2 separate regions of the Homo sapiens genome follow, and region 1 is linked to region 2. The links are contacts of gene promoters, found by promoter capture Hi-C in blood cells and fetal thymus (Javierre and others, 2016). All regions are on one chromosome and are shown on one strand. Each heading gives the region's core, a stretch centred on a gene start or on the middle of the fragment in contact. The rest is flanking DNA. Distances are from core to core; before and after follow the strand shown. Region 1 overlaps LOC105369395 (a long non-coding RNA gene). Region 2 holds the start of SERPINH1 (serpin family H member 1).

What was found. Contacts are between HindIII fragments. The CHiCAGO score rates a contact against its expected background, and 5 or more counts as called.
Region 1: a fragment that was not itself captured here is called in contact with the fragment with the promoter of SERPINH1 in region 2 in 1 of 17 cell types (naive B cells); the score reaches 5.2 in naive B cells.

Annotation. Positions count from the first base shown.
Region 1 is chr11:76,319,817-76,325,443 of GRCh38, forward strand. LOC105369395 (a long non-coding RNA gene) reads left to right here. Exons shown (of 5, transcript XR_950333.3): 5 at 664-843. Among named protein-coding and RNA genes, the nearest start is that of THAP12, 59 kb to the right of the region's middle. The HindIII fragment of the contact is 2,567 bases long and covers 2,831-5,397 here.
Region 2 is chr11:75,558,457-75,563,502 of GRCh38, forward strand. SERPINH1 (serpin family H member 1) reads left to right here and starts at 3,797. Exons shown (of 5, transcript NM_001235.5): 1 at 3,797-3,863. RefSeq lists cis regulatory regions at 1-18, 491-1,341, enhancers at 354-895, 3,477-4,016, 4,017-4,557, 4,558-5,046 and silencers at 3,533-3,792, 3,803-3,852. The HindIII fragment of the contact is 13,607 bases long and covers 2,349-5,046 here.

The DNA of each region.
Region 1 (5,627 bases), core at 2,864-5,363, 760 kb after region 2:
ATTCCAGCACTTTGGGAGGCCGAGGAGGGTGGATCACTTGAGGCCAGGAGTTCGAGACCAGCCTGGTCAACATGGTGAAACCCTGTCTCTACTAAAACAACAAAAATTAGCCAGGGGTGGTGGCACATGCCTGTAGTCCCAGCTGCTCTGAGGTTGAGCAAAAGAATTGCGTAAACTGGGAGGTGGAGATTGCAGTGAGCCGATATGGTGCCACTGCACTCCACCCTGGGCAACAGAGCAAGACTCCATCTCAAACAAAACAAAAAGTGCCAGTGCAAAGTCACCTCCTCCATGAGTTGCCTTCCTCAATATACCTTTCTCCCCAAGTTCACTACTGGGCACACAGCCTGCTCTCGATAAAAGTTCAATCCCATCTTCCTCTGGGTCCCCATAGTTCCTGTGCTGTCCTTTATCCCTGCATAGGCCAGGAATGTTTCTGTACCCATCTCTTGCCCTCCCCAGGCTCTGAGCTCAAGGGAAGAGACTGTGTGTGACCCATTGCTTCTCAGCATAAGGTCTGGTGTTCAATACATTTGCATTTATTAAGCATCTACTATGTGCCATTAGACTAGATGTTTTCCCGTGCTTTACCTCATTATAGACTTAAGTCACCTGTGTTGAACATGGGAGTCTTGACCACTTTGTTCCTGCTCTTCCTGTCAGCCAAAATGCCTTCCCATGAGCTTGCCACATAACCATGGGTGGCTCACTGGACTTTCATCTGGGCAAAGAGAAGGGTGTGCTGACACTACTCATGGCTCCTTCATCTGGGACCTACCCAAATCCCGTGGCTTTGCTCACAATCATCTGATCCTGTTGTGCCCAAGATGCCTGCTCCCATGCCTGGATACCTGCTGCAGCTGCTCCAAGCCAGGACCCTGCCAATCTGTCATTTTAGATCTTCAGCTCTGGGTTGGTCTTCCAGGTGCCTCTGCCTCCCAAGGAAACCCAAGGAACTCCGCCAGAAAGGGAATGCCTAAAAGAGCAGCAGTGGGGACTGTAGGGGTCCTCCTGCCTGCCCCTTTGTTATCCAGAGTGGGGCCCTGACTTGCCTGAAGTCACACAGGGACTCCGGTATTCCAATCCTCGGCCTTAAGATCGCTGCTATCCGGTTACTTCTATCTAAAAGCCCTAGAGAAGTTTCGGGAGACACTCAAAGGGCCCTTGTCTGGTTTCCAGGCTGACCAACTCTAATGGAGAAAAAGCTCACTCACTAAGCATACATCAAATGCCAGGCGTATAGAATCCTTCAGTGGAGGGATCATTCTCCCCATTTTACAGAGGAATAAAGTGAGGCTCAGAGTGAATGAAAGACTTTCCCAGGTCACATGTCTGCAGTAGAACTGGGGTTCTCGGGTGGCCTTGATCACCATGCTCGGCTCCCTTGAAGGCTGACGCACACAAATTAATTCCAAAGACAAGGCAGCAAATAACCAGATACAGGCTTTGGCGTTCTGAGACCCTGAGGGAGCAGGGAAGACTTCCTGGAGGTGGTGAGTGGGGCACTGAGAGAGGCCTTGGAAGAGGGTCCAAGCTGGACTAACGAGGAAGGAGGAGGGTTGGCAGGAGGGAGACATTCCCACTCCCGTCACCTGGGTGCAGGCACTGTGACTTCTGCCTACAGCCTCCTCACCCATCCCCTGCCACTCCCCCAGTCCCCCCCCGCCCCCCCCCGACACCAGCCAGAGTGGCCTTCCCGGAAAGCAAATGACTGGCCAGTCAGGGTCCTGCTTACAATCCCTCAGAGTCGCCCATCCTCCAGCATGGTTTGCCAAGGACCTGCTCGGGACTGGCTCTCCCCACTCTCTCCAGCCCCATCTTGAGCCACTACACCTTGAATTCAGCGTTTCAACAACACACAGTATTTGGAATTTCTCCAACTGCCCCCCTGTTGGTCTTTGCATATTCTGTTCCCTCTGTCCATCATATCCGTTCATCTTTCAGAGCTTAGCTGAAATCCCTCCAGGACGCCTTCCCTGAGCCCCGGATTGAGTGGGGTGCCCTCCCCCAGCTCCCACCCTGGGTCTGTGTCTGCCTGCCCTGCCCATGCCCGCCCCACAAGGCCCACGCTTGCGCCCTCGGGCTGCGCAGGGCGAGGGTTTGGGGGCGCGGTACTGACGGGTGTCCAGGCCTCTCCTCGAAGGGTTCCGCGCGCAGAAAGGTGGGCCGGGGCCAGAAGACGCGCTGGAAAGGCGTTTTCTGCCCCCTCCGGGCCTCGGGAATATTTGTGGGCTGCCGGCGGGGCAGGCGGGGTGGGGGAGGCTGCCCGGCGGGCGGGAAGCCCCGCGCACTCGGGTCCCCTGCGGTCCCCGGCGGGGGTCGGCGCGTGCGGAAAGCGGCCCGAGCCCCCAACCTCGGCCCGTCCGCAACCGAAGAGGAGGCGACCGCAGCCTGGAAAAGAAGAGCCCCCAGCTGTTTCCTTCCACCCGGGCGGGCGGGACGGAGAAGGGAGGGAGCCTGGGAGAGACGCAGGTGTGGCGCTCGCCTGTGCTGGCGGGGTGGCAGCCGGGGCGTGGCACCCTCGGAGTCTCGACTCTGCCCACTTCTCAGGCAGAAAACTGAGGTGGTCCCATGGCCAGAGCTAAGAAAGGCAGTGCTGATTCCTGGGCCCCCGCTGCTCACAGCGTCCTTCAGCATCCCAGTAGGCCGAGGGCATCTCACTCTTAGGTGACCACAAGAATCACGGGGACAGTTGTTAAAATGCAGATTTCAAGGCCCCATCTCCCAGAGACGCAGTAGGTCTGAGATGGGACCCAGAAATCAGCTCTTTAAAACAAGGAAATAGTCCACATGTTGTGAAGCACTGGTGAAGAGATGCTTTGGAATAGGAAGCTTCCCCCTCGGCCTAGTTACAGCAGAGAGCAGAGAGCGAGGACTCGGAAGGGAGGGACTTGGACCCTGAAGCCCAGGCTTTCCTGCTGGGTGACTAACTTCTCTGTGTCTTGATTTTATCTTGCCTAAAGTGGAGATAACATTCAGCCCACAAGGTTCTGTAAAATCAAAGAGATGTGAGTAAAAGTGCTTTACTAACTTCACCACCACCATCATTATTATTCACTGTCACCGCCCATCCCCTAGGCAAGGAAAGAAGCCATCCTGAACCTGTGGGGTGATGAGCTCAGATGCTACCACCTCTGCAAAGGCAGCCCTGGTCATTTGGGAGGAAGCCCTCTTTCCTCTGAACTGAACACCACTCCTTCACCCCCATTTGGTGCTCCTTGTACGTGCCCAGGGCTGACTGCAGTACCATGTGCCATTTTTTCACCAAAATATGAGCTCTACCTTTGGGGCTCCTCAAAGTCAGCAATTATGTCAGAAGGGCTGCATGGTAGAGACCTGAGTTTAAGTCTCAGGTCTGTCATTTACTGAGAGATCTTGAAACCGCCTTTGTAAAATTATGACTGAGACAGTGAAAGAGATCTAACTTAACTGACTCCATTTTGCTTCTAACCTCCAAGCTGTCCTTGTTCATTCCTAAGCATAGATTGAACTATCTTTGGGAGAAATTTAGTTTATAGTTTATTGTTTAAACAAAGATGGTAACAGACCTTTCCCAAAGCAGACCTCCTTCTTGCCTGGGGACTAGATTGCTTTGGCAGGTCTAACATTAGCCACAAGATAAGGAATTATATGCAGCTGGAGGATACAAGATTCTGACCCTCTCTAACCTGCTCTAAGATCAGTGCTTGAGATGTTTCACAGGCCCTGCACTTGATGGATCAGCTGGCACCACCCAGATCAATAAACTGGCTCATCTGATCTTGTGGCCCCCACCCAGGAACTGACTCAGCGCAAGAAGACAGCTTCCACTCCCTGTGATTTCATCTCTGACCAATCAGCACTCCTGGCACACTGTCTTCCCCCCACCCACCAAGTTATCCTTCAAAACTCTGCTCCCCAATGCCTGGGGAGACTGATTTGAGTAATAATAAAACTCTGGTCTCCCGCACAGCCAGCTCTGCATGAATTACTCTTTCTCTATTGCAATTCCCCTGTCTTGAAGAATCGGCTCTGTCCAGGCAGTGGGCAAGGTGAACCCCTTGGACTGTTACAATCTCAGTAAATGTAAACTGTCAGTTTACTGAGATCTCTCAGTAAACTGCCCCCGTTATTCTTGGGGCCACCAAAGAGTGAGCTGCCCTTGGCCTACTGTGATGCCAAAGGGCGCCGTGAGCAGCGGGGGCCCAGGAATCAGCACCGCCTTTCTTAGCTCTGGCCATGGGACCACCTCAGTTTTCCACCTGTGAAGTGGTCAGGAAGGCTGTGGGATCTTGATCAGTGCATCCACCTCTCCAAAAGTCTATCACTTTAGAGTGTAAAGGTTTAAATGGAATAATGTCTATAAAGTACTGTAATGTCTATCACTCAGTTGGCCTAACTTGAATAAAACAAATACAAGCTGGGCAGTCTGAGGAAGGCATCGCAAGGAGTGGCTTTTGACCTGGGCTTTTAGAGCCAGGAGTCTTAATAGGTAAAGAACTGGTGGGGAAGGGCCCCTCTAGGCCCTTTTCCATATTCTGGTTACAGTCTCTGTTAATGTTTATAACTTTAAACAGAGACTTCCTGCTCTGAAATGTGTTGTTACTGCCCATTTAAAAATTGAACTAGAATAAAGATAGCAAGCGGAACTCGCACTATGGTCTTCCCTGAAACCAACTAAAACAACACTAAAGGGATTTATCATAATATTGGAAACCAGACACAGCCAACAAAGAATGGTAATTGATTAAATCCTAAAAGGCAATAAAGAAAGTTGAAAATCAGCCCAATTTACACTGTTAAACCCCCAAATGGTTCAGGAGTTGGTTGTACCAGGTACCTCTGGAAAGTGGGTGGGTCGGAGGTGGGCGGGGTGGAGGCTAAAAACAGAAAGATTGCTTGGAAAACAATCAGACTTCCAGATACTCTCTCTCCTGGCAAAATACTAATACTCCAGACAGGATACACAGAATGCTTCAGGCAGGAGATTGGAGGAGCTTTTCTTTTGACTAGCACAAAATAAAAGACATGGAATGGCCCAATCATGTGCACAGCCCCAATCATGTTCAGAGGGTATCAAATCTGTTTTAGTGTCTCATTCTTAAATATGAGCAGACAGCAAAGGATGAGTAAGCATTTGAGAAAAGCCTCTAATTAAAAAAGAAGTCAAAAGAATAGGGGGAAACAACAAAGGAACTTAGAAGCTGGCAACTTTGCAAAAAGCTGAAAACTTAAAACTATAATTAACATCCTAAGAAATAAGATATTGCTGCAAAATGGGGAAATGTCTCCAAAATTCTGAAGAAAGTTATATTTCCATCCCAGAAAGTTATATTTCCACCCAGCCAACTGATGATCAAGGGTGAAGAGAGAATACATTTCTAGTCATGTGAATTATCTTTGCATGTTTCCTGAGGAAGCTTCTGGAGGATGTGCTTCAACAGAAGTGAGGGAGTTAACCAAGAAAGAGGAAAACATGGCATCCAAGGAAAAGAAAATGTAACAAAGGATAGGGGCAAAGGAATCCCCAGGCCATTCTATTCTATTGTGCAATAGAAGACAATTCATCCTAATGGGACATGGTGGAAGACTCTGGGAGGGACTTCTTCAGGAAGATGAAATCAGTAGACTAGCCAATGCATTTAAAC
Region 2 (5,046 bases), core at 2,547-5,046:
CCAATGTAAAAAGAAGGGGATTAAACTTCCTTCCGATTAACGTTCTATAATTAAAAGTGAGACACTAATGACGGTGCCCAGCACAGGCCTGGCAGCGGCAAAATGGCCCATAAATGTCACTTCCTTCTCGTCCACTCCCTGCCTTCCCGTGGATATGGCATAAACAGACCTGATTCAAAACCCAGCTCTGACTCTGGCTTGTTGTGTGCCCTTAACCCTGTTGCTTAGTCTCCCTGATCCTCAGTTTCTTCATGCTGAAAATTGGAACATTCTTCCTTACCTGAAAGGAATAAATATGATAATAAATGTGAATGTGTTGCACACTTAAATGACATGCAAGTTTTTGTCCTAGGATTCTATGGGGTGAAGACTGAGTGAATCTAGCCACTGGGGCCAAAGAAAGCTGTTTCCACAGCACCTGGCAGAACTGGGCCTACATACCCCCCTGGGTCATTAGAGGGTACTGTGGGAGAAAGAGGGCTGGGAGTCCAGGGCTTAGGCTCCAGCCCAGCCCCACCTCTGATATGCTGTGTGACCTTGGGTAAATTCCTGCCCTCTCTGGGCTTCCGTTGTCCTCTCTGTATAGTGTGGATGCAGTTGGACTTGATGGTTTTCTACTTTCTGCTGTCCACACCTCTCGGGACCTAGGGATCTAGAGGATTTCCAGCCAGCCTCCACGTGCCAGGCACCAGGACCACTTCCTTCAGTGAAGCGAGGCACTGGAGGAGTCCAGAGACAAAATGCTTGAGAGTTTCTCTGCTTATCAGACTCTTCTCCCCCACCCCCTAAAAGAGTGCTTTTTCCGGAAAGCTCTGCCTGGAATGTGGGGGAAGGGCCACAGTCAGTCTGGGCTGGGCTCAGAGCTAAGAATATTGTGGCAAAGGCTCTTGACTTTTTTTTTTTTTGCTGATCTTGGAAATTTAAAGGAGCCGTTGCTTTCCCTTCTTCAGGGAGGCTGTGCTAGGGGCACAGCAGCCTCAGGCAGCCACTTCTCATCCCCTGGCCAGCCATGCTTACCCAGTGCCTCTTCCATACTGTCCCCTTGCTGGAGCTGGGGACTCACAGTGACAAGGAAAAGGCCCTGCCCTTCCAAAGTCTCCAGTGATGGTTCACTGACAATACAGGGTGATAACAGAGATAATGCAGCAGTGGGATAGGTCACAGAGGAGGCTTCTGACCCGGTGTGAGATTAGTGGGGGTCGGATGGGGGTTGGGCCTTCAGACCCAGCCCTCCTTAGGCCTCAGCTTTGCTGTCTGTAAGGGCAGGTCCTCTCTTCAGTGACCACTCATGATACTGGGTCTATTTAACAGCATGAGCTTTGGTTTATCCCTCAAAATGGGACAGTCACAGCACTCTCAGTCTCCCCCTCAGGTGTTGGTGAAGCCTAAAAGAGCTAAGAGATGTAAGAGAGTAGAGGAAGGGAGTCTCACTGGGATTGTGACATCTGAACCTGCTGAAAACCCAGGCGACCCTCTCTGTTTTGCCAGCATTGATGGGCACTCTTTGTTTCTGCTCTGCCCTGCCCTCAGCTCACTGACCAAGTCACAAGGAAGCCTGAGGGCCAATGTGGGGGTGGGAGTAGAGAGTGGGGTCTGGCCTGGGACCCGGGAGGTCTCCTTGGATAAACAAGAATTTATCTTTTTTTTTTGAGATGGAGTCTCGCTCTGTCACCCATGCTGGAGTGCAGTGGCATGATCTCGGCTCACTGCAAACTCCACCTCCCAGGTTCAAGAGATTCTCCCGCCTCAGCCTCCTGAGTAGCTGGGATTACAGGCACATGACACCACAGCTGGCTAATTTTCATATTTTTATTAGAGATGGGGTTTCACCATTTTGGCCACGCTGATCTTGAACTGCTGACCTCAGGTGATCCACCCACCTCGGCCTTCCAAAGTGCTGGGATTACAGGCATGAGCCACCGCGCCCAGCCTAGAATTTATCTTTAAAAGCAATATACAGTTGAGGCAGGAGGAAGCACATGAGAACCACGACAGCCACCCCAAAGAGATGGACACCATGCCAAGGCTGGAAGCTTTTGTTAATAATCAGACCTGTCCTAAAAAAGAATGCGGGGCTGCCTCTGAAGGAGGTAAGCTCTCTCTTCTTAGAGGTGCCTCGGTGCTTGCCTTTTTGGGATACTGAGAAGAGGGCTTCTGCCTGGGGCTGCAGACAGGAACCCCTGACCTCTGAGATGCCTTGCAGCTCAGAGTCTTTAATACATTTATTCCAGAATCCTTCGACTCTGAGATTTTAACATGTTAAGATTCCTTAGCTGGATTCAAAGACTCCTTGGGGGCTTTGAGTGGAAGTAATCTCTGATTCCTTGACCCTGAATCACAGAGTCTGAAGCTTTTGGGATCTGAGATTTCCCACAGTCCTTGTACTCAAAAGACTCTGAGCTGCAGAAGCCTACCCAGACAGAGAGGTTTGTCACCACCACCAGGCTTCCCCACAACCACTAACAGAGGGCAGGGACCCAGGTGATTGACTCATTTGCTGGGTACTGGGATTTTTTTGCTCCCCAGGATCCAGGCAAGCACCTAGAAGAAAGAAGATACTCAATGCATTCATTCATGACTGAATGAATGAAGAGTCCCTACCCTGTCCCTTCCTCTCCATACTGCGTCCATCCAATAGCTATCATTAAACTACTAAAGAGGACTTTTCGGAGGGTAGGGAGCCTCGGCTGATCAGAAATTGAGCCACTGTCGCCCAGATTATTTAGGGTTTCCTAAATAATCTGCCTCACTGAATCACTGAATTCCCTACTAACAGGTACATACCCCACAGATGGACATCGCACAGGGCAAGGACTTTGTTCAGCTCTCAGCTGTGTCCTCAGCACCTAGAACAGTAATGAATACCCTAGCTTAACTTGGAGGTCAAGGAGCTATCAGTTTGCGAGGGTGGGGTAGGAATTGACAGTGAGACCTGAGGCCTGTGGGAGGGGACCCAAAGAGGGAGGGGATGCAATAGGGAGGGGGCCAGGGGTGACAAGGATTGAGGAAGGGAGAGAGGGGGGAAAAAAAGCAAGGGATGCCTTAGAACCACATTTCACAGCCAAGGGAACAGAGGCCCAGAAAGGGAAAGTAACCTGCTTAGGGTCACACAGCACCTTGCTCAGTGGAGAGCCAGGTTTTCCTTCCTGTGCACTCCTCCAAGCCCAGCCAGACCACCTGAAGTTCCCCAGGCATCTCTGCCTCTATTACTCCACGACTTGAACTTTCCGGGTGCCGGGCAGGTACCGGGTCTGGTCTGCTCCCTCTCCCTCTGGCCATCGCTGAGGTTGAGGTTTTTTGAATGTACAAGTATGGAGAAGGGCACTGCCTTCAGAAGCCTGAACGTCTCCCCTGAGAGGGAGGGGGTGCACAGGACTCAATTGTTTCAGCTTGAAAATGGGGGAGAGCGGGGAGAAGGGGAGATGGCTCTGCTTGGGGCAGAGCCCCTGCGGGGAAAGGGGCGCCTGAAAGGACGTGCGATTCGGAGTGGGCTAGCTTATGCAGAGAGCCTGGGGGTGGGAGGAAGCTCGCACTCTGAAGGACACGCTGATCCCCGTGGGGACTCCCGGCGCCCCGCAGCCCGGGCCGCCGAGGGAGGCAGTAGGACCCAGGGGCCGGGAGGCGCCGGCAGAGGGAGGGGCCGGGGGCCGGGGAGGTTTTGAGGGAGGTCTTTGGCTTTTTTTGGCGGAGCTGGGGCGCCCTCCGGAAGCGTTTCCAACTTTCCAGAAGTTTCTCGGGACGGGCAGGAGGGGGTGGGGACTGCCATATATAGATCCCGGGAGCAGGGGAGCGGGCTAAGAGTAGAATCGTGTCGCGGCTCGAGAGCGAGAGTCACGTCCCGGCGCTAGCCCAGCCCGACCCAGGTGAGGGGCGGGAGACGCCTGCGTGCGTGCGGCCCGGGGGAGCGCCGAGCAATCTGGGGGTGCGCGAGGGAGTAAGAGGGGCGAGGGGACCCTGCGAAGCGTTGGGTGCCGAGCCAGAGCCTACAAATTGGAGTCCTCGGCACTTTGGGGGCCGCTGGAGGGTTTGGAATCGAGAGCCCAGGGCTAGCCAGTGATGGTGCCAGCTGAGGGCTAGGGCGGAGATCGGAGCCGGGTTGGGAGTCCGTGCACTCGGAGGACTGGGAAAAAGTGCAGGGACCCCTAAAAGGTGGTGGTGGCAGATACGAGACTAGGTGCTGTGTAAAGGGGGCTGGGGGCAGAGAGCAGAGCCTCTGCGGAAAGAAACAGAGGAGGAAGGAGATGGGTCTGGTGCCTCTTCCCGCAAGGGTAGGGAGGATAGGCCGGCCTCGCAGTTCCAGGTCACTTCCGTTCTGGGGTTGAGGCTCAGGGGCAGCGGTGATTGGTGGCCCAGCCTCCTCACAGGCTTGCTGAGGGAATTTGAGCTTCCGGTGGTGGGAAAGGAGGTGAAATCGTCTCGACTCCTGGGGTCCGTGTGCTCTGGTAGAAGTGGGCGACAGTGGCTCAATTTCTGATCAGCAGCTTGCAGCCTAGATGATGGCAGCCAAAGGAAAGACTTGGCCAGCGAGGCTCCCTACCACTCCGAAAAAAGAGAGTGGGGGTCAGCAGGGTCTGCTCTGCTCTGGGGATTAAGGGGCTGACTAGAAGGATTTGAGTCTTTCCTTCTGTCCACTGCCACAGGGTTCTTGGAGTAACTGCAGGGTTTAAACTGCAGGGTCTAACTTCCAGAGGCTGGGGTTCCCTGCCCCCCAGCTTAGAGACATTCCTGAGGTGGCTGAAGAGCAGGAAGGAGAATGAATGCACTTCCAGACTGGCCCAGAGTCTCAGCCCCTCCTCTTCCTTGTTTCCCGCTGGTCCCTCTGGGCTGTACGGCCCGGATGGAGGCCTGAGGAAAATGAGGGGGCTTTGGTTCTCCGGAATTCCGGCCGGGGCCACACCCTCCTGTCTTCAGATGGTTCATGTACCCATCCCCCCTTCCCGTCCTCTCCTTTGTCTCCTCTGTCACCGGGACTCCCAGCAGAGATTTTTTTTTTGTACTGGCTGTGTAACAGGACACCGCATGCAGCCCTCAGGAGGGGCTCTGTGC